Regions from separate parts of the Homo sapiens genome. Here regions 1, 2, 3 and 4 are each linked to region 5. Evidence: promoter capture Hi-C in 16 types of primary human blood cells and fetal thymus (Javierre and others, 2016). All regions are on one chromosome and are shown on one strand. Each heading gives the region's core, a stretch centred on a gene start or on the middle of the fragment in contact. The rest is flanking DNA. Distances are from core to core; before and after follow the strand shown. Region 1 overlaps RSBN1L (round spermatid basic protein 1 like). Region 2 holds the start of YWHAG (tyrosine 3-monooxygenase/tryptophan 5-monooxygenase activation protein gamma). Region 3 overlaps PHTF2 (putative homeodomain transcription factor 2). Region 4 overlaps TMEM60 (transmembrane protein 60). Region 5 holds the start of FGL2 (fibrinogen like 2).

Region 1 (4,416 bases), core at 1,266-3,765, 560 kb after region 5:
AATTATCATGCCTGTCTTTTATTGTGTTCTGACACATCTATATACCTAAATCAAGAGGAACTATATGTATAATCTTTGTAATTCAGTGCATTTCTTTTTTTAGAAAGCAAGTATATTCTATTATTATTTTTTATTTAGTTAACTTATTTTTTGAGACTGAGTTTCACTTTTATCACCCAGGCTGGAGTGCAGTGGTGCGATCTCGCTGGCTGCAACCTCCGCCTCCTGGGTTCAAGCATTCTCGTGCCTCACTCAGCCTCCTGAGTAGCTGGGATTACAGGCACCTGCCACCATGCCTGGCTAATTTTTGTATTTTTAGTAGAGACGGGGTTTTGTCATGTTGGCCAGGCTGGTATCAAACTCTTGATCTCAAATGATCCTCCCGCCTTGGCCTCCCAAAATGCTGGGATTACAGGCGTGACGCCTGGCGTATATTTTAAAGCAGTGACATGTTTTGACTTTTTTTCAGGTTAATTTTTTAACTACACCAGAAAACTGGTTTGATTAATGTTTACTGGAGTGAATAAAAGCAAATATAGTAAGCTCACATTGAGCGTCATCAGGATGTGAGGTTTTCCAGATAGGCTATTTTTTTAGTTAATGGAAACGTAGTTTTAAGTATTAAGATTTTATAAAAATATCTTCATTGCTGAACATATGCAACATAATGTCACTTTATTTTCAGTATTGGTTTGTCATTATGATACAATACTGATGCCTTAGGGCAGCTGCAGCTGTGCTTACCCTTTTTCCTTCCTTCCCCTTCTAAATATGTGGTTTCTTGTCCTTTATGATTTTAGAGAGTAGTTACGATTGTGCCTAATATAGGAACTGATAGGTAAGAAGAAGAACTTTTATGAGCCATGGTCTTTGTGACATTTACTGTGATTATTTAGAGATTCTTTTAATCCTTATCTGTTACCTCTTCCACCTCACCGCCCTTGAGTTCTTCGCAGTCTGGCATAGTCTGGATAGGTGATTTTTAGAGAAATGAGGCTTGATTTTTTTGTAATAGGTGAATTCTGCATATTTGGTATATAGTTTTGCAACAAAAGAGGTGTCACCAAAATCAAGAAGTATTTACATTTTTGTGAAAAGCGTGTGGATTTTATTCTTACATTTTATTTTAACAACTTAAGTACCATCATGTATTTTATCAAGCAGTATATACTTTTTAAATTGGAAACATTGTTGTGTGTAACTTGCCATGTTTATAACATTTAAGTTAATGGTTACAACTGATGGATTTGAAATATTGTGTTATTAAACTAGAAATTTGTATGAAATGATATATAGTTAAAGGTTATATTACAATATATTTTAAAATTTAATACTTTTACAGATTAAGATTTTGATGACTTCAATTTAATTTTTTAAATTTGGTCTAAGTTTAAATATGTTTATTCAGGTGGGTGATCATCATTTTATCTTTACTGTTGGAGAATAAAGGTTTTGGAAGATCATTGCCGTTTTGTTTTAAACATGTGAGAGCTAAGCAGTTTTTATAAAGGCCAATTTCCTAATAGGATTTATTTTTGGTTTTATTAGTGGGCAAATGGCATCTACCTGTACATTCTGGTTACAAGGGAGAGACTTATACTTTTGTTATAATAAGTTATGTGTGAAAGTGAATTTTACATATCTATATGTTTTATATGTATTTTGGCATGAGGTGGGAAGAACTAACTAAAAATTCAATTAAGATATTTAGCAATATAATCGGAGTAGAGTCTGTATTACTTTACTTTAAAAATTCAGGGTCTCTAAAAAATCCTTTGAAATAGTTATGAATTTTAATAGGACCATACTTAAAAATAATCAGCAAAAGATAAAGCCTCTTCTTAGGTAGTGCCCAAACTAGACAGAGAATGGGGGAAAAATCGGTTTTTGATTTATTCAGTCTATTATGTTAAACATTTTAATGTTTAGGTCTATACTAATTTAGACGTGTTTTGTTTTATTTTGAAATAAAAAGCATTATTTGTAAACTTGGAAATTAATGTAAATGTATAATTTGAAAGAAATGAGATGGCTAGGTCAGTAATACTTCTTCAGTCAATGAAATAATTATTCTAACCTGAAATAGCAACATCTGGTCAAAGCAAAATTAGTAAATAAAGTTCTTGAGTCATGACACAACATATGATGTGTCTGTAATATTACCACCCAAGTTTTACCCAATTTTTTCCTGTTACTCAATGATACATGTTTTTACTCACATTTAAATACATAAATTTTACTCTACAAGGACTGTGTTAACAATTGGTTCCGGTTTTCTGATTATTATATTATCTCCTACTCTCTATAATTTAATAATGTTATAGTTTTTTGGTTTTATTTCATGTATAATATGACTTTTTAAAACTACTAGATAAATTGAAAGTTTAGTTGTGCTTCGTATTTTAGAAGAATTCACTTAATGAAAATTCTTTCCTAACAGTCATCCCCTCCGCACAAGATAAACTGCCCAAATTATTTAGGTGATCATTGTTGGTACTGTGATGTCATAGAATGAACCAACTCAGTGGCAAGGACTTGATTATGGCTTTGTTAGAACTAAATGTTGTAGGTATCTAATTTAAACAAGATAAGGAAATTTATGCACAGAAAATGTACTTATTTGTATGAGGTGGAAATATATATAATTTGACTTTTTTTTTTTTTTTTTTTTGGTCTCGCTGTGTTGCTCAGGCAGATCTTGAACTCCTGGGCTCAAGTGATCCTCTTGCCTCTGCCTTCTGGGTAGCTGGGATTACAGTTTCGTGTCACCACCCCTAACTCTAATTTGACTTTTTAGATATATTTCAAAGCACTTGGAAAATTTGTGTTTTACAATATCAGTTGTTTGATTTCACTTTCTAAATGGTTATCGTCTCTCAAAACCCCTTATGGTCATTTGCAGACACAAAACTCAGAATCTCAGAATCACTTAACAGACTTGATGTGTTCTATTCTGGTAAATGTGCTAGAGTTGAGATTGATACCCTTAGCTTCTTTGATAGACTGCATTACAGAGGTGCATAGACTGAATTTCTTACTGTGCTGCTATTAATGCATCTAGAGCCTGAAGACTGTTGTAGAGTTAGGCTTTAACTGTTAGCTCTCTTGATATTGGAGATGATAGGAATTTTTAGGCGACAGGAAAAAGATGAGACAATGAGCATACAATGGGGGCATAAGCCCCAGCTGTTCTTATATTTGTTTGTTTTTTTGAGACAGGATCTCGCTCTGTTGCCCAGGCTGGAGTGCAGTGGCCTGATGACAGCTCACTGCAGCCTGGACCTGCCAGGCTGGAGATATCCTCCCACTTCTCAAAGTGCTGGGCTTACAGGCCCTTAATTTTCTAACTTGTAGGAATGGTTTGTGGTTCTGAGAAGTCAATTTGTAACAGTTTAGGAAAATTTAGGCTTAGAAATCTGGTGAATTTATTAAAGAATTAATGTCATTATTAAACTGCTTTGCTGATTATAATAACAAATGAGATTCTCTTCCTTAAATGATTTTGTATGAAAACATGTGGGTTGGGGTTTACTTTGTTACGTTGTGATACTCTTACCAGCTATGATTGTAAGGATTCAACTTTTGATGTGACTATCTTTTATAATCTGTGTCTGTGATGTGATAAAAGTTGACCATCCATGTTTGCCTGAAATACAAGACTTTCAGTTTTAAGACTGATAGTCCTGGGCAAACTGGGACAAATTGGTCTCCTAAATTTGTTGTCCACAAAGGCTAATCCAGAGAAAGAGACAATTACAGTTTTGCTTATAATTTGGTTATCAAAACGAGTTGTTTCGCTTGAAGACAGACTCAGCTTGTTTACTAGTGTTAGTATATGAAAACACATAGGTTTCTTTGTCAGGATTTAAATATGCTGGCAAGAAATGTAGTTACCAATCAATCTTGAGGTGCACATGGCTTTGTTTTGGCTCTTTGAATGCCACCCATTTGCTAGCATTATGGCAGGTGAGTTTATATCATTATCAAATTTTCTTCAGCAATCTGCTGTAAAACATTCCAGTTAAGGAAACCACAGCTCAAGGAACGCAAATGATTTCTGAAGGTCATGTAACTGGTAGATAGCAAAGGCAGATTTGGATTTTAGGATTCCTGATTCTTAATTTCTTTCTTTCTTTTTTTTTTTTTGAGACATAGTCTCGCTCTGTCGCCCAGGCTGGAGTGCAGTGGCACAATCTCGGCTCATTGCAAGCTCCGCCACCCAGGTTCACGCCATTCTCCTGCCTCAGCCTCCCAAGTAGCTGGGACTACAGGCGCGCGCCGGCCACCACACTCGGCTGATTTTTTTGTATTATTAGTAGAGACGGGGTTTCACCATGTTGGCCAGGATGGTCTTGATCTCCTGACCTCATGATCCGCCTGCCTTGGCCTCCCAAAGTGCTGGGATTACAGGTGTGA
Region 2 (4,473 bases), core at 55-2,554, 840 kb before region 5:
ATTTTTAAAAAGACTTTTTCCCCTTTAAAATAACTCCTCCCAGCCTCCACCCAGTCTAGGCTCTCTGCAATATGACAAATGCAGAATCTTCTGGAATGACTTGATACTGCCTCTCACCACGGCTTTGTTTGCACTATCAGATCAGACAGAATATTTTTTCCCCCAACTTATAGGAATTTCAACAGACGCGTGCCTGTATTCAAAAAAGAAACGGCATATGTCACACGAATCGAACCAGTCAGCTACATTCACCACCTTTTAATTTTACAGGCAATACCTACCCTTTTCAATACAAAAACATTAGGGAATAAAATGGAGATGACATGTTGAGAATGATCAATGAAAACGCTAGCGAGACAAACGTTCTCCCTTCCTAAAAGCCGGAGGACTTGCTTTGGGCGAATGGAGAAAGAAGAGCCTTTTGTTAAGAAAAACGTGAGCAAGGTGGTTTCGATTTTGCACCACGGAGCTCAGGTTTTCAAGAGACCCTATACAATGTTTCTGGGAAGATTCTCAGGGATGTGTCGGGACAGACAGTGGGGAAGATTCTGGGGGGGCTGGGGAGGTGGAAAACCGGGAGACCTGCTGAGTGAATGGGAAAGGCGCCGCCCAGACACCAGGGAGAGAAAGAGGAACCGCATCCATGCGGTCCCCCGCCCCCACGCCCAGGCTAGGAGGAGGGGGGAAGTGGGGCACAAAGGATGCGCACGCCTCCCCGCTCGGGTCCCCTGCACCCCTAGAGCCGCGGGGGCCGGAGACCCCGCTCCCAAGTCCAGCCCCGCGGGACCTCGCCCCGGCCCGCGCCCGCGCCGGGCCTGAATGGCAGCGCCGCGGGGCCACGGGGACTCCGAAAAGAGGCCGCGTCACAGCCCGGGTTCCCGTCGCCTCTCGGGACCCTCCCCAGCCCCCCTCAGTGAGCGAGACGGGGCGGTCAACCCGCCATCGCGACAGGGCGACGAAGCCCCGGGCCTTCCACGCCAAGGACCGCGTCTTCGGAGGGGCAGGGAGCGGCGGGGGAGGGGAGGAGACACTCACGTTCTTCATGGCCGCGGCCATGTCGTCGTAGCGCTCCGCCTGCTCGGCCAGCCGGGCTTTCTGCACCAGTTGCTCGCGGTCCACCATCTTCGCGGGGCTGGGTCTGGCCGGAGAAGGAGGAGGACACTGGGGCGGCCTGAAGGGCTTGGAGGGCGCGACTGGAGCCCAAGTGCCGGAGAGGACCGACCCACAGAGCGAGCAGCTGAGGCGGCGGCTGCGCGGAGGAGGCGGCTGGAGCTGCGACCGCGGGACCGGGCGCGAGGCGGCTGCGGCTGCTGTGCGTGCCACTGACGGACAACCCCCTGCGGCCCCGCCCACGCCGCATGACGAAGGCAGGCCCCGCCCACCCGTCCGCAAGCCCCGCCCATGCCCCGCCCGAGCCCGGCCGCGGCTAGAACTCCCCGCTCCCCAGCTGGGCTCACTGCGCGTCTTCCGGGCACCCCGTCCTTTCCCACTGCGCCCCCACTCTCCCCTTTTTTCACTTCACTCCCCAGTTCCCTCACCCCAGCTTCTCCAGTCGCCCCCTTACGCCTCCCCCTTGAGCCTCCCGCCCCGCCAGCCCTCGGACGCATGGGCCCCTGGGAGTTGTAGTGTAACCTGCAGTGCACTGAGGCGCTGAGGAGACCAAGGACAAAGGGGCGGTCAAGACTACAACTCCCAGCGGACATAGCGCGCAGGCGCAGGAGGACGGGGGGGGGTGCTTCGAATCCCGAGGCCGCTGGGGACCCCTGGCGGGGATCAGGGCTGCATCAGTCCCTGCGAGTGCTGATTCACCGCCCCGCCCCATATTCTCCGGGAAATTACGAGAGGAGGGGGCAGGGGCCTCAGTCCTAGACCCTGTTTCCGAGATCACGTAGCAGGTCGTGGTGGGGGAAGGACAGGAGGCGCGTCCATTGTAGATCCAGACTCTCAGTGTGGTGCCTGCCCGCGGGATGGCCGAATTAAGGGGCCAGACCCTGGGGACTGTCACCTCCACCCCCTACGAGCTTCCATTAAACCCCCCACCCCACCTTGAGGCTCTTGGGCCTGAATAGGTGAAAACATGGACGAACGACAAATACCGGCTGGCCACAGTGGTTGATTTCCAGAAAGGATGCAGCTGTCTGCTGGCTGACCCTGGAGAACCCCTTCTTCCTCTCCAGGGTGGAGTGCTAAAGATTGAGTTCAGCTACCAGGAGCCTACTCCACATCTAACTGGGCTGCGTCTAGGGCTTGGTTGTCCAGCCCTTCTCTCCCCTCCTAAGACATACATACCTACTGAGGTCACGCTGATATATTCTCGTTCATATTATTCCACATAGCTTGCAGATAGCATGGGTTTTTTTGCTTTGTTTTGCTTTTTTGTAGAGACGGGGGTCTAGCTTTGTTGCCCATGCTGGTCTCGAACTCCTGGGCTCAAGCGATCCTCACGCCTCGGCCTCCCAAGGTGCTGGGATTACAGATGTGAGCCACCATGCCTGCAGGCCTGATAGTTTTGACTGCACATTTTATTTACTTTATGTATTCAACAATTATCTATGAGAAGCTACTGTGTTCCAAGCCCTATTCTAAGCCACGAGGTACAGTAGTGAACAAAACAGACAAAAATCCCTGCCCAAGAAAATAGGTGAGATATGTACAGTATGCTAGAAGTCAGTAAGGAGTGAGTTTTGAGGTTGCAGTGAGCTGAGATTGCGCCACTGCACTCCAGTCTGGCGACAGAGCAAGACTCCGTTTCAAAAACAAATAATAAAATAAAAAGTTTTTTAAAGGCTGGGCACGGTGACTCACACCTGTAATCCCAGCACTTTGGGAGACCGAGGCGGGCGGATGACAAGGTCAGGAGATCGAGACCATCCTGGCCAACATGGTGAAACCCTGTCTCTACAAAAAATACAAAAGAACTAGCTGGGCGTGGTGGTGCCCACCTGTTATCCCAGCTACTCGGGAGGCTGAGGCAGGAGAATCACTTGAACCCGGGAGTCGGAGGTTGCAGTGAGCTGAGATCCCTCTACTGCACTCCAGCATGGGTGACAGAGCGAGACTCCGTCTCGAAAAAAAAAAAGAAGTGAGCTTTGGCCTGGCACGGTGACTCACACCTGTAATCCCAACACTTTGGGAGGCCGAAGCGGGTGGATCATCTGAGGTCAGGAGTTCGAGACCAGCCTGGCTAACGTAGCAAAACCCCATCTCAACTAAAAATACAAAAATTAGCTGGGTGTGGTGGTGGGCACCTGTAATCCCAGCTACTTGGGAGGCTGAGGCAGGAGAATTGCTTGAACCTGGGAGGTGGAGGTTGCAGTGAGCCGAGATCGTTTCATTGCACTTCAGCCTGGGCAACAAGAGCGAAACTCCATATCAAAAAACAAAACAAAAAAAAAGTGAGCTTTGCAGACTCTGCTGCTGCCAGGAGTACTCTACTACTGGCCATGGTCAATCCCACCGTGTTCTTTGACATTACTATTGAGCCCTTGGGCTGCGTCTCCTTCAAGGTTAGGGGCATGGAAACCAAGAAGCCAAGTGACCTCTCCGGAGCTTGCAGTGAGCCGAGATTGTGCCAGTGCACTCCAGCCTGGGAGACAGAAAAAGACTCCGTCTCAAAAAAAAAAAAAAAAAAAGAAGTGACCTCTCATCTAAACTGTAAAGCCATGTTAACATATCGGAGCTGTTAGCAGACAGTGTTGTAAAGACAGCAGAAAACTTTCGTTCTCTGAGCACTGGAGAGAAAGGATTTGGTTATAAGGGTTCCTACTCTCTCTTTTTTTTTCTTTTCTTTTTCTTTTTTTTTTTTTGAGACAGAGTCTCGCTCTGTAGCCCAGGCTGGAGTGCAGTGGTGCAGTCTTGGCTCACTGCAACCTCTGCCTCCCGGGTTCAAGCGATTCTCCTGCCTCAGCCTTCTAAGTAGCTGGGATTACAGGCGCGCACCACCACGCCCAGCTAATTTTTGTATTTTTAGTAGAGACGGTGTTTCACCATGTTAGGCTGGTCTCGAACTCCTGACCTCATGATCCATCCGCCTCAGCCTCCCAAAGTGCTGGGATTACAGGTGTGAGCCATTACGCCCGGCAAGGGTTCCTACTTTCACAGAATTACTCCAGGGATTATGTGTCAGGGTGGTAACTTTACACACCATAATGGCACTGGTGGCAAGTCCATCTATGGGGAGAAATTCGATGAAGAGAACCTCATCCTGAAGCATACAGATCCTGGCATCTTGCCCATGGCAGATGTTGGACCCAACACAAATGCTTCCCAGTTTTTCATCTGCACTGCCAAGACTAAGTGGTTAGATGGCCAGCATGGAGGTCTTTGGCAAGGTGAAAGCGAGCATGAATATTGTGGAGGCCATGGAGCGCTACGAGTCCAGGAATGGCAAGACCAGCAAGAAGATCACCATTGCTATGGCCGGGCGCGGTGGCTCACGCCTGTAACCTTAGCACTTTAGGAGGCCGAGGTGGG
Region 3 (4,640 bases), core at 269-2,768, 620 kb after region 5:
TCCACAGTTTCTGTTTCCCAGGGACAAACAGGTTCAGCTCTTTCAATTGATATTTTATTTACCATTCATAATGATACATGTTTGACTTCCAGTCATCTGCAGGGTCATAGAGAAATAGTCACTCATTGGCATGGTGTGAGAGAAAATGGATCTTTTATTTTAACAGCTTTCAACTAGTCTGCCTAAAGATGGGACTAACTTTATTCCCGTTTCCAGGGGATGCTTAAACCATGAATCCCTGAAACTTTGTTTTATTGCATAAATTGGGTTAATATTCTCCTTTCTCTACTATTGCTGTCTGCTGTCTCGGATCTGCTAGGTCAGTTACAAGTCACATATCTTCTTTCAAGCTTCATTTTTGTTGTTTTTTTCCGTTCTCTCTGTTCTCATGTATGTATGCGTTTGCTGTCATTTCAGTTAGATATTGTAAGGTAGTAAAGTTAGATGCTTGTGTTTAGTCTGGCTTTTTGTATTCTCTTGGAAATTTGGTTATTCTTTTTATATATTGGAATAACTTTTTTTTTTTCTTTGAGACAAGAGTCATGATCTGTCGCCCAGGCTGAAATGCAATGGTGCAATCTTGGCTGGCTGCAATCTCTGCCTCCTAGGTTCAAGTGATTCTCGTGCCTCAGTCTCTCAAGTAGCTGGGATTACAGGTGCGTACCACAATGCCTGGCTAATTTTTGTATTTTTAGTAGAGATGGGGTTTCACCATGTTGGCCAGGCTGGTCTCAAACTCCTGACCTCAAGTGATCTGCCTGCCTCGGCCTCCCAAAGTGCTGGGATTTCAAGAGTGAGCCACCATGCCTGACATGAAATAACTTTTAATAGTTTGCCTGTTTATAGTACATGGGTCCAGGACAGATACATGTTTCATTTTGCTCAATTCAATTACATTATTTTAAAAAACTACTTTTATTAATTGACACATAATGTACATATTTGAGGGGTACATAATGATGTTTCAGTACATGTAATGTATAGTGATCAGATCAGAGTAATTGACGTATACATTATTTCAAACATTATTTCTTGTAGCTATTTGCAACTATATATTATTGTTAACTATAGTCATCCAACAGTGGTATAGAACACTAGAACTTATTCTTCCTATCTAACTGTGATTTTGTAACCTTTCACAAATCTCTTCTGATCTCTCTCTTCCTTATGCCCCTCCCAGTCTCTGGTATCCTCCATTCTACTTTTTACTTCTATGAGATCAGCTTTTTAGCTTCTACTTATGAGTGAGAACATGCAGGGTTTAACTTTCTGTTCCTGGCTTTTTTCGCTTAACATGATGTCCTCCAGTTCCATCCATGTTGCTGCGAATGACAGGATTTGATTCTTTTTATGGCAAAACAGTATTCCACTGTCTGTAGACCCCATTTTCTTTATCCATTCATCTGTTGTTGGGCATGTAGGTTGATTCCATATCTTGACTATTGTGAATAGTGCTGCAATAAACATGGGGTACAGATGTCTCATCAATATACTGATTTTCTTTCCTTTGGATAAAATTCCCAGTGGTGGGATTGCTGGATCATATGGTAGTTCTATTAGTAGTTTTTTGAGGAATCTCCATGCTCTTCTCCATAGTAGCTGTACTAGTTTACATTCCTACCAAATGTGTAAGAGTTCCTTTTTCTCTGCATTCTCATCAGCATTTGTTATTTTCTTGTTTTTTTGACAGTAGCCATTTTAAGTTGATGAGATGGTATCTCATTATGGTTTTGATTTGCATTTCCCTGATGATTAGTGTATTAGTTCGTTCTCACGCTGCTAATAAAGACATACCTGAGCCTGGGTAATTTATAAAGGAAAGAGGTTTAATTGACTCACAGTTGAGCATGGCTGGGGAGGCATCAGGAAACTTAAAATCATGATGGAAGGGGAAGCAAACACATCCTTCTTCACATGGCAGCAGGAGAGAGAAGAATGAGAACCAAGCAAAGGGTGAAGCCCTTTATGAAACCATCAGATCTTGTGAGAACTTACTATCACAAGAATAGCATGAGGGAAACCACCCCAATGATTCAGTTACCTCCCACCAGGTCCTTCCCATGACACACGGGGATTGTGGAAACTACAATTTAAGATGAGATTTGGGTGGGAACACAGAGCCAAACCATATCAATTAGTGATGTTGGGCATTTTTAAATATGTTTATTCGCTACATGTATGTCTTCTTTTGAGAAATGTCTTTAGATTTTTTGCCCATCTTTAAATTGGATTGTTTGTTTTTTGATGTTAAAAAGTTTGAGTTCCGGGCCGGGTGCGGTGGCTCATGCCTGTAATCCCAGCACTTTGGGAGGCCAAGGTGGGTGGATCACGAAGTCAGCAGGTCGAGACCAGCCTGACCAACATGGTGAACCCCCATCTCTACTAAAAATACAAAAAAATTAGCCGGGCATGGTGGCGGGCGCCTGTAATCCCAGCTACTTGGGAGGCTGAGGCAGGAGAATCTCTTCAAACTGGAAGGTGGAAGTTGCAGTGAGCCGAGATTGCACTACTGTACTCTAGTCTGGGCAATGAGAGCAAAACTCCGTCTCAAAAAAAAAAAAAAACAACAGTTTGAGTTCCTTGTATATTCTGGCTATTAATTCCCTGTCCCATGAATAGTTTGCAAATATTTTCTCCTAGTCTATAGGTTATCTTTTTACTCTGTTGATTGTTTCCTTTGCTATGCAAAAGCTTTTTGTTTTTATATAATCTCATTTATTTTTGCTTTTGTTGCCTATGTTTTTGAGGACTTATTCATAAAATCTTTTCCCAGAAACCAATGCCCTGAAGCATTTCTGCTGTTTTCTTTTAATAGTTTTGTAGTTCTGGGTTTTACATTTAGGTCTTTGATTCATTTTGGGGTTGATTTTTGTATAGGATGAGAGATGGGCATCTAGTTTCATTCTTCTGCATATCCAGTTTTCCCAGAAGTATTTATTGAAGAGGCTATCCTTTCCTCAATGAGTGTTCCTGACACCTTTGTCAAAAATCAGTTAACTGTAGATACATGGATTGATTAATTTCTGGGTTCTCTATTCTGTTCCACTGATCTATGTGTCTGTTTTTATGCCAGTACTATGCTGTTTTGGTTACTACGGCTTTGTAGTATATTTGAAAGTCTGGTGGTGTGATGCCTCCTCTTTGTGCTCAGGATTGCTTCAGCTATTCAGAGGCTTTTGTAGTTCCATATGTATTTTGGGATTGTTTTTTCTGTTTCTGTGAAGAAAGTAATTGTTATTTTGACATGTGCATTGACTCTGTAGATTTCTTTGGGTTGTGGGGTCACTTTAATAATATTCTTCTGATCCATATGCATGAGATGTCTTTCATTTGTTTGTATCCTCTTCAGTTTCTTTAATCAGCATTTTATAGTTTTCCTATAGAGGTCTTTCACCTCCTTGTTTAAATTTATTCCTAGGTATTCTTTTGTTGTTGCTGTAGTAAATAAGATTGCCTTTTTTATTTCATTTTCAGCTAGTTGATTGTTTGTGTTTAGAAATGCTACTGATTTGTGAATATTGATACTGTATCTTGCAATTATACTGATTTCATCTATCAGTTCTAAGAGTTTTTGGTATAGTCTTTAAGTTTTTCTATATATAAGATTGTGTCATCTGCAAATAGACATTTTGACTTCCTCCTTTTCAACTTGGTTGCCTATTATTTCTTTCTCTTGACTAATTGCTCCAACTAGGACTTTCAGTAGTATATTGAATAAGAGTTGTGAAAGTAGGCATCCTTGTCTTGTTCTAGTAGTCAGAGGAAACACTTTTGGCTTTTTCCTAGTCAGTATGATGTTAGCTTTGGCTTTGCCATATATGGCCTTTATTATGTTGAGATATTTTCCTTCTATCCCTAATTTGAGAGGTTTTAATCATGAAAGAATGTTGACTTTTATCAAATGCTTTTTCTGTATCTATCAAGATGACCATATGGTTTTTGTCTTTTATTCTATTGGTGTGATGTATGATGTTTATTGATTTGTATTTGTTGAACCGTCCTTGCGTTCCTCAGATAAATTCCCCTGAATCATGATGTATTATCTTTTTGATGTGTTGTTAGATTTGGCTTGCTAATATTTTGTTGAGAATTTTTATGTGTATGTGCATCGAATATATTAGCCTGCAGTTTTCTTCTTTTTGTTGTCTTCTTGTCTAGTTTTGGTTTCAGGGTTATCCAGGCCTCATAGAATGAGTTAGGAAGAATCAGTCTGCTTCAATTTTTTGGAATAATTTGAGAAAAATTGATATTAATTCTTCCCTAAAGGTTCAGTAAAATTCAGCTGTGAAGCCATCCAGTCCTGAACTTTTCTTTTATGGGAGACTTTTTGTTTTGTTTTGTTTTGAGATGGTGTTTTGCTCTTGTTGGCCCAGGCTGGAGTGCAATGGTGTGATCTCGACTCACTGCAACTTCCGCCTCCCAGGTTCAAGTGATTCTCCTGCCTCAGCCTCCTCAGTAGCTGGAATTACAGGCATGCACCACCACACCCGGCTAATTTTGTATTTTTAGTAGAGACTGGGTTTCGCCATGTTGGTCAGGCTGGTCTCAAACTCTCGACCTCAGATGATCTGCCCTCCTCGGCCTCCCAAAGTGCTGGGATTACAGGCGTGAGCCACCGCACCCGGCTTGGGAGACATTTT
Region 4 (4,566 bases), core at 821-3,320, 590 kb after region 5:
AGTCTCACTTTGTCACCCATGCTGGAGTGCAGTGGCATGATCATAGCTTACTGTAATCTTGAATTCCTGGGTTCAAGCGATCCTCCCACCTCAGCCTTCCATGTAGCTGGGACCACAGGCGTGAGCCACTGCACTCGGCCCCTTGTCATAGTTTCAAGTCTTATAAAAAGTTATTTTGTGCACAGGTTGCTTTTACTCAGATTGTTGATGACAAATCTTTTGCCCAAACCAGAGTGAGTTACATCCATGCTAACCTAGAAAAAATCGGCTTTGGTAAGAACCTCTGATGTTTAAGTTTCTTTCATGAGGCATTGTGTGTTTAATCTTAAAAAACGTCATTGGTAAATATCTCTGTAATACAAAGGAAGAATCCTATAACTAAAACCTAGGAAGGTATTTTTGTACAATACTAATTGTTTACATATTAGTCCATTTGTTTTGATTTTTCTACCTGTAAGCATGATTTCTATCTTTAATGTCTTTCATTACGTAATGTTTTAATGTAACACACTGATGTGTGTATTGCACATATCCATGATAATTTATTGTGCTGCTTCAAGTGTTTATTTAGTGCGGCAGTTCTACTTTCTGGGAATCCTTCAGATGCTGTTAAAATTCATTGACGCTTGTGTAAACAGGTCGGTTATTGTGTTGCAGTTTACATACAATTCTTACTTAATCTCTCTCTTCCTTCCTCGTAGAACTGTTTGGGGGAGCAAGAGACCTGTTCTACCTTTCCTCTTAACGTCTCATACAGAATTCCATTATGCTTTTATTGCCTAGCACAGGGGTCAGCAAATTACCTCCTGTAGGCCATATCTAACCTACCACCAGTTTTTCTATTGTGTGTGAGGCAAGAATGGTTTTTATGCCATTAAATGGTTGAAACAAAAGTAAAAATATTTTGTGATGTGAAAATCATTTGAAATTTAAATTTCATGTCCATAAATAAGGTTTTATTGGGATATAGCCATGGTCTGTGGCTGCTTTCTCTGCCATAAGGACTGAGTTCAGTAGTTGCAAAAGAAACCACATCACCTAAAAGCCTAAATATTTACTGAGAAGCCCTTTACAGAGAAATTTTGCTGACTCCTGGCCTAGCTGATTGTTTGCTGTGGTGCCATCCCTTCTTTTCCTTTTCCCTGTACTCCAAAATCCTCTTGGCTGGTTTCTTAGAGAGATGTAAGCTTTCTTCTACTTTGAATTTATTTAACGATAGATCCCATAAACCAAAGTATGCATCTCTCAATTGAGTTAGAGGTATCTGATCAAGCCTGGAACATTCCGTTCCCAGTACTAACTGTTCTCAATCCTATTTTTACATACTGAAAATCCTAATTATTGTCAATTATAAGATGAAAACTTTGCAGTTGATTAGTTTTTATTTATTTAGCCTAGCTCTCTAGTTTCAAATGCCTAATGAGTTAAGCTGTATTAATCTGTTGTATTGTGAAACTTATGTTATCTGTCATTACAAGGGAGAACTAGACCTTCTGTATCAGTAGCCAGAAATCACTTTTTTGTTTGATTTTTTTAAAACGGAGAAAAAATCACTTGAGGTTTCTCTTAAAGCTAAAAGTGAGGGTTGCATAGGGTAAGAACAATCATCGTGCTTCAGGGTTATAAGACACTTCAACCTCTTTGGAATTTTTATAAGTACTGTCACCTCTGCTTCATTGGAATTGATTAGTACCTTGGGAGGGTGATAATATGCTTTCTCAATTCAAGACACTTCTAATTGTGAGGGGGCACTAATTCCTTGAGACCCCAGGACAATAGGTATATAAACTGGGCCTGTCCTGACAGAATCAGGATTATAGGGTCTCCCTAACTTTAGGAAGTGGCAGGCTTCTGCTGTTTGTTTTTGTTTTTGTTTTTTTTTTTTTTGAGATGGAGTCTCACTCTTTTGCCAGGCTGGGGTGCAGTGGTGTGATCTCAGCTCATTGCAACCTCCGCCTCTGGGGTTCAAGCGATTCTCCTGCCTCAGCCTCCTGAGTAGCTGGGACTACAGGCGCCCACCACCATACCCAGCTAATTCTTGTATTTTTAGTAGAGATGGGGTTTCACCATGTTGGCCAGGATGGTCTTGATCTTTTGACCTTGTGATCTGCCCGCCTTGGCCTCCCAAAGTGCTGGGATTACAGGCGTGAGCCAGTGCGCCTGGCTTTTCTGCTCTGTTTTAACATGCCACCTCTAAATTATTTGTCCCAACCAGAAGGTAGAGGTAATAGTGAATTTAGCCTAGATAAAAATCTGTCAAACTCAGATTCTTTCTAAATGTAAATACGAAGTGGCATCCCTGTTTCAGGTTTTTTTTCCTTCATAATTTAGAAACACAAATGGCCATTTACTTTGGTCATAATACAGCCATGGTATATTAAACTTCTATTAAAAAATGTAGGTTTTGTTTTGTTTTTGAGACGGAGTCTAGTCCTATTGCCCAGGCTGGAGTGCAGTGGTGTGATTTTGGCTCACTGCAACCTCCACCTCCCGGGTTCAAGTGATTCTCCTGTCTCAGCCTCTCAAGTAGCTGGGATTACAGGCGCCCGCTACCATGCCTGGCTAATTTTTGTACTTTTAGTAGAGACAGGGTTTCACCATGTTGGCCAGGCTGGTCCTGAACTCCTGACCTCAAGTGATCCACCCGCCTCAGCCTCCCAAAGTGCTGGGATAACAGGTGTGAGCCACCTCGCCTGGCCCAAACATGTAGGTTAAAGGTTTTATATTTAGTTACTTTAGATATTGACCACATACAACAGATTATTCAAGAGTCATGTAGAAAAATGAGGTCCAAAACAAACTTTATTTACATAGAGATAATAAGGATCTCAATAACTCAAATGCTGAATAATTAAGCTGTAGGTTGACTAGAAGTCCGTGATTCACCAATCCTGTTTTATGGAAGTAGTATAAAACTACATTTGGTATTTTCCCTCAGTTCTCTGGTATTCTTGAAGCTTGACAGATTCAGAACACTTTAATGGTAACTTGTTGAACAGCAATAGAAAGGAGATGATGTACTTAGAAGTCAGTCTCTCACAAAAAAGACATTATATCCGAGTTCTGTTAAAGCCCCAGCCAGCAAGGCCCATAAAGGAATGAAGACATAGGATAGATTCATGGTAGTAAACTGTTCCAGTTTAGCACAGAGTGCGAGGCAGAAGGCTAATTTAAGTAACATTGCAATGAGGTACCAGGCTTTTTTTTTAATATTGTGTGATCCATGTCGAGGGTCAAAGCCAGACTTACACCGCCCAGCCATTTTCACAATCAGCAGGACAAGAAGGATAGTATCAAATATCCAGACTGGAATGAATATGAGGAACCAGTTCCAAGGTGCTTTCTCATCCAGTTTCAACACCAACATGATCAAGAAGAGTAGTGTGAAAAGCCAGGTGAGTAGTACTCTCTGAGCCAAGGACATTCTCATTTAAACAGTTTAAAGAGGCTGTTGCAGGATCGGAAAAAAGGAAATATACCCTAAGAGAAGGAGAAAAAGTCAAGATTGTTTTGATACCAGAAAAAAAGTATCACTTCCATTCCTAATGAACAAAACTGGTTCTTTCCCAACTGACTTCCTAATTTTGAAAACATTCTACTATTCTTCCTTTCAAATCCTCTAAAACTTAGTGATCATTGACATTATATCCACCATTCCTTACAGCCCATGACAAAATACAATTTTTATTATATCTACTGTATAAGCTCTATTCAAAATGTCAGGTGATTCCTTTTCAGTGCTATCACTCGAGTCCAGGCACTTACAACTTTATTCCTGCACCTCAAAGATGTTCTTAATCTTCCTATACATTTGCAAATCTAATTTTTAATTCAATTTCAAGGGGTACAAAGAAAAAAGCATTCAAAGTAGTGAAAAAGTGAAAGGTGGGTATCAAGCTGAGAAGAGAGAGAGTTTTAAAAGAAGGGAATGGGAAGGGTGCGTGGCTCATGCCAGTAATCCCAGTATTTGGGGAGGAGAAGGCAGGCATATCATTTGAGCCCAAGAGCTCCAGACCAGCCAGGGCAAGAGTGAAACCCTGCCTCTACAAAAAATAAAAAAATTGGCAAGGCGTGGTGGTATGCACCTTGTAGTCGCAGCTACTGAGAGGCTAAAGTGGGAGGATTGCTTGAGTCCAGGAGGTCGAGGCCGCAGTGAGTGCCCCGTGAGATCATGCCACTACACTCCAGCCTGGGCAAAAGAGTGAGATGCTGTCTCAATCAGTCAATCCATCAATAAAAGGAGGGAATGGTTAATAAAAATCACAAGAATATAAAGTAGAATTAATATTTTAGTGGCTGGGTGCAGTGGCTCACACCCACAGTCCCAACACTTTGGGACTCTAAGGCAGGTGCATCTCTTGAGCCCAGGAGTTCAAGACTAGTCTGGGCAACATGGCGAAACCCCGTCTCTACTAAAAATACAAAAAATTTAGGTGCAGTAGCACGTGCCTGTATTCCCTGCTACTCGCGAGGCTGAAGTGGGAGAATCACCTGAACCCGGGAAGTTGAGGCTGCAGTGAGCCGTTGCACACTGCACTCCAACCTGGGCGATGGGAGTGAGACCAC
Region 5 (4,356 bases), core at 1,087-3,586:
AAGCTTTGTTCTCGTAATCATTGCATCCCTTGGTCCTAAAAATCAGATGATTCTAACTCTCCTAGAACTGTATTCCTTGCATACAGAGGAAGCACAGGCTTCTATTTTCTTTCACCTAAAGGGGCTGATAGCCTCTACTGTCAGAAGGTTTTATAGCATATATTCCAAATGATGTGTTAAAATCCTAATGCATAGGATTGATCATAAATTCATATTCATTTCACTTGACAACTATATAAAGAAGCTCAAGTGAAAAAGAAGTATCTTTTTCAATGACACACCAATATTCTTATTCTGTATTTATTATCTAGGAAAGTATTTAGCCACTATTTCACATGTTGGGTTTCTAGAAAGAAACAACAGGTGACTATATTGAGGATAAGCATAATAATCAGTTAACAAAGTTCTGTATGAATCAGACAGATATTTACTCCCAGATAGTTTTTATTAAAATGTGTGACAAATAAGGTAAGTTTAATATGAGATACCCTAAGGCATAAAAATCTATTCCTGTATATTTAGAGCTCAGAATATTCAGTTATTTCACCCAAAATGTTTAGGAGAAAAATAGACAATAGTCTTCATATCATGACAAGTTGCCATGCAGCATCTAATCTAATGTATACCCACTGATGTCACCTAAGCGGTGAACCTTGGATTCGCAGTGTGCCAGGTACATTCAGATGCAGGCTGCCAGGAGTATTACCAATAGAGGTCCTTGAAAATATGACCCTTCCCTCCTTCACTGGCAGATGCCCTGGGGATGGAGCATGCCTGAGATACTGTCTCTAAATGAAAGTGATCTCCGCCCTGTCCTTTCAACCTCACGTTCATGGTAAGTAGAGGTCCAAATGCGGAGATGGCTTTCCAAAGTATGAGACAGTCAGCAACAGTGGTCCCAGTGACTCAGGTGAAAAGCCAAGGTTTGGAGAGTCAATACCACTGTTAGTTCGTGGGTGGAGTAGGCGATTAAGTCTGTGGAATTTCACATGTATTTATTAAAGTTAATTCAAGTAATTTGGATGGTGAGGATGGGTTCTACTTCTATCTGCTTGAATTCTAACTTCAGGTAAAAGAGAAAGAAATATGAATACCTTCCCTTAGTGGCATGCTAAAACTCTCCCCTTAAAATATTTTTTGTGCCACTAGGTCTCAAAGCAAAAATTTGTGCACACATATGAAACTGCTTTTATTCCATCTGTAAACTCTCCCATTTTCTCCAGATATTTGGGATTAAGAACTAGATTACTTGCTAAAATCTTTCAAAGACCTCTTTAGCCATGAGAAGCGGCAGTCAGTCAATCACAAGAAAAACTGATTTCCAACAAACAAGGCACAATTGTGAACATCGCCTTATCTTTATTGTTTTCAAACACCTCATTGAAGAGACAAGTTAAATGCACTAAAACATCAAGAAATTCTCTCTACTTCTGCTTGCAAGTAGGTCTGGCATTAACAAATAAGATCTTAAAATTGAAAGTGACTTCCAGTGGATACAGAACTAACTATGATTTTTGTAATTAGGTCATATTTATGTGGTCATATTTGAGAAGATATTTATTTTTTCCTGTGCACCTTGATAAATAAAAGACTTAATCTGTCATCTATTTAACTTACTGACTCAGGTTAATGTTTATAGATACTCTCTAGCTGTATAACATTTATGAACATATGATAAGAAAACATTATTATACATACCTGGACGTGACTGTATTTGTTCTTGGCTGGGACACTTTGAACATTTGCCATCCAAACTATTGACAACAAATGTTAGATTTGCCACTTTGCTGTCAACATAATTTTCTATGTTGTTCATATTTACAAGATTCAGCTTCTCCAGGCGACCATGAAGTACATTGATCTCCTCTTTGGCATTCTTTAGCTCAGAGGACAGCTTGTTAACCTCACTCTCTAATTCTCTAACTCTGTTATCACCAACCTCTCCCGGGGCTCCTGTACTGGGTAACAACAGTCCGTTTCTGCCTGGGTCTCCGTTGTCATCAGCCTGCAGCTTGCAGTCTTGGCAAGATTTCTTTAGACTATTTACGATTTCCTTGAGGTTTTGGACTTCTTTGAACACCTCCTCGATCCTGCTGAATTGCTTCGGGAGCTGAATAGTCAAGGGGGGCAGGCTTACCTGGTAGGGGCACTCCCCTGCCTCTTCGCATTTCCCTCTGCTTTCTAGTCTCACTGGGCAGACATCCTTTGCTCTTTCATCTTTAATTTCCTCTGTTTCATTGTTTGCCACAACCAAAAAACCGTAAGTGGCAAGAACAGCTGAGCTCAGCCAGTACCAGTTAGCCAGCTTCATCTTTACAGTGCTGCTCACCCCAGCAGGGAGTGCGCAGGGCTGGAGCTGCTTTAATAGCGGCAGCTGCCTGAGTCAGGCTTTCTGTGTTCCCAGGAAAGGGTGGGAGCGTTTGCATCACAAGTTTTAGAAACGCACAGGAAGAGGAGATAGCCCTCATCAAACGCAGTTTGCCAAAAACTGTAACTTACTCTCAATAGAAATAATATGCATTGAAATTATTATAGTCAAATGTACACAGCCAACAAGATTCACTTTCATAATGTATTTTATGAAGTATAAGAAAAGTCTTGCATTTCTAAAGTAATTTGGTATACTTACGCTTGAAGTAAATAATTATACGTAACTTCACTGGAAAAACAGTTTTTAAAGATAAAAAGTAAGAGCTAGTTATCCAAACTGTCTATAGAACAGAAACGTTACTAAAATGAAAATGGTCCTTTTTCCTTCTTAGAATGGGGCATTGGGGAGCCTGTATTTTCTTCATGTTGGACTTTCAGGTGAAATCTTAAGCACTTTTAGAAGTTTCTAAGTGTAACAAAGTACAGCTTTCTGACTATTGCAGTTGACTTTTGCTTCATCTACTTGAAAAAGAGAAGAAAACTAGTGGAGAAAAAAGTGCTACTTTCTATTCCTTTGTCCGTAGCATAGTGTATATTAATGTCTAAATGTCTAAGACCCATTTAAAAGGACATAATTGTCTTTCATCAAAACCAGTAGCTGCCTCCTTTGCCCTTCGACATTTTGGTAATTGTACTGTCATCTTCCACAGCTGCTCAAATGTGAATCTTTGAGCTATGCCAGTGTCTGTCCTGAACTTCTCTTGCCTACAGCATCTTTGCCCTTTCTTTCTGCAGGTAGCCCTGGCAGGCGGGCCTCTTGCTTTCTGTCTCCACGCTGGTTCTTCTACCTGCTCTCTGGGCCACTTGGTATATCAGCTTGTTCAAAACATGTAGCATTAATGATAATAGTTTTCTAACTTTCTCTTCAGAGGCTGAAGGCAGGAAAGAGGAACAGCTTCAGTTAGAGAAACCACCTCCTTTTAATTTGTTTTGCATATTGACATCTCATAAGATTTCTTGTTTAAAAAGGGTTTTTTTGCTTTAAAAATAATTTCAAAATGACTGACATGGGCAAAAATCTAAATGTTTTATTGTATTACTTAAAACACTCTGTAGCCTATCTCATATTTATGTCTTTAACCTGATTTCCTATGACTTTTCTGTATATCCCCTTAATTTTAGCCAAATCCTATTCACATTCTCAAAATGTTGGCAGACTCTTTACTCTTCCATGACTGTATTTATTCTCGCATACTCAGGAGACCTGGCTTCCAACCCTAGATCTACCTCTGATCATGTAAACAGATCATCAGCTTTAATGAGCCTTTGTTCCTGTAGCTGTAGCGGAGGAATTTAGCTATTTCTTCCCTCATACAGGAATGATAGTCATGCAAACTTGGAGCACTTGGCTGGGCGTGGTGGCTCACGCCTGTAATCCCAACACATTGGGAGGCCGAGGCATGTGGATCACCTGAGATCAGGAGTTTGAGACCAACCTGGCCAACATGGTGAAACCCCATCTCTACTAAAAATACAAAAAAAAAAAAAAAAATTAGCCAGGTATGGTGGCGTGTGCCTGTAATCCCAGCTACTCGGGAGGCTGAGGCAGGAGAATCACTTGAACCCAGGAGGTGGAGGTTGCAGTGAGCCTAGATCGTACCACTGCACTCCAGCCTGGGCAATAAGAGTGAAACTCCATCCCCCAGCCCCACCCCTCACAAAAAAAGAAAAAAAAAACTTAGAGCACTTAAGAAAAAAAAAAATGCAGTGTATAAATGTAACATTCTTCCCAAATAAATTTGTCAAACATGTTCTACACACCTTATGACTTTTTTTCTTCCATCTTCATATAGCTCTTTCAAAAATTGTTTTTCTCTTCATTCCATTCAATATATCCAATTTTAGACAAAAACTTTTTAGCTAAAAATATCTATTTAATCCCCTAACTCCTAACCTCATTTCTTCTCACCTATTTTCAAGCTGTGA

The links. The method cuts DNA at HindIII sites, captures the fragments that hold promoters and counts their contacts. A CHiCAGO score of 5 or more calls a contact.
Region 1: a fragment that was not itself captured here is called in contact with the fragment with the promoter of FGL2 in region 5 in 1 of 17 cell types (neutrophils); the score reaches 5.5 in neutrophils.
Region 2: the fragment with the promoter of YWHAG here is called in contact with the fragment with the promoter of FGL2 in region 5 in 7 of 17 cell types (neutrophils, naive CD8 T cells, fetal thymus and 4 more); the score reaches 9.7 in neutrophils.
Region 3: a fragment that was not itself captured here is called in contact with the fragment with the promoter of FGL2 in region 5 in 1 of 17 cell types (naive B cells); the score reaches 5.7 in naive B cells.
Region 4: a contact is called between a fragment that was not itself captured here and the fragment with the promoter of FGL2 in region 5, in 1 of 17 cell types (neutrophils). The highest score is 5.1, in neutrophils.

What each region holds. Positions count from the first base shown.
Region 1 is chr7:77,760,499-77,764,914 of GRCh38, forward strand. The region is part of intron 3 of RSBN1L (round spermatid basic protein 1 like); the gene reads left to right. Among named protein-coding and RNA genes, the nearest start is that of TMEM60, 36 kb to the right of the region's middle. RefSeq lists an enhancer at 3,765-4,265. The HindIII fragment of the contact is 5,069 bases long and covers 1-4,416 here.
Region 2 is chr7:76,357,687-76,362,159 of GRCh38, forward strand. It overlaps YWHAG (tyrosine 3-monooxygenase/tryptophan 5-monooxygenase activation protein gamma), which reads right to left and starts at 1,305. Exons shown (of 2, transcript NM_012479.4): 1 at 1,036-1,305. The coding sequence starts at 1,122. It also overlaps the pseudogene PPIAP81. RefSeq lists silencers at 436-626, 710-909, 1,230-1,639 and an enhancer at 734-1,380. The HindIII fragment of the contact is 9,671 bases long and covers 1-4,473 here.
Region 3 is chr7:77,815,562-77,820,201 of GRCh38, forward strand. All of the region lies in intron 1 of PHTF2 (putative homeodomain transcription factor 2), which reads left to right. Among named protein-coding and RNA genes, the nearest start is that of PHTF2, 19 kb to the left of the region's middle. The HindIII fragment of the contact is 2,341 bases long and covers 349-2,689 here.
Region 4 is chr7:77,790,944-77,795,509 of GRCh38, forward strand. TMEM60 (transmembrane protein 60) reads right to left here. Exons shown (of 2, transcript NM_032936.4): 2 at 2,785-3,480. The coding sequence starts at 3,430. The coding sequence ends at 3,029. Among named protein-coding and RNA genes, the nearest start is that of TMEM60, 5.2 kb to the right of the region's middle. The HindIII fragment of the contact is 1,770 bases long and covers 1,186-2,955 here.
Region 5 is chr7:77,197,483-77,201,838 of GRCh38, forward strand. FGL2 (fibrinogen like 2) reads right to left here and starts at 2,337. Exons shown (of 2, transcript NM_006682.3): 1 at 1,699-2,337. The coding sequence starts at 2,311. The region is part of intron 2 of CCDC146 (coiled-coil domain containing 146); the gene reads left to right. RefSeq lists a silencer at 1,928-2,037. The HindIII fragment of the contact is 5,002 bases long and covers 2-4,356 here.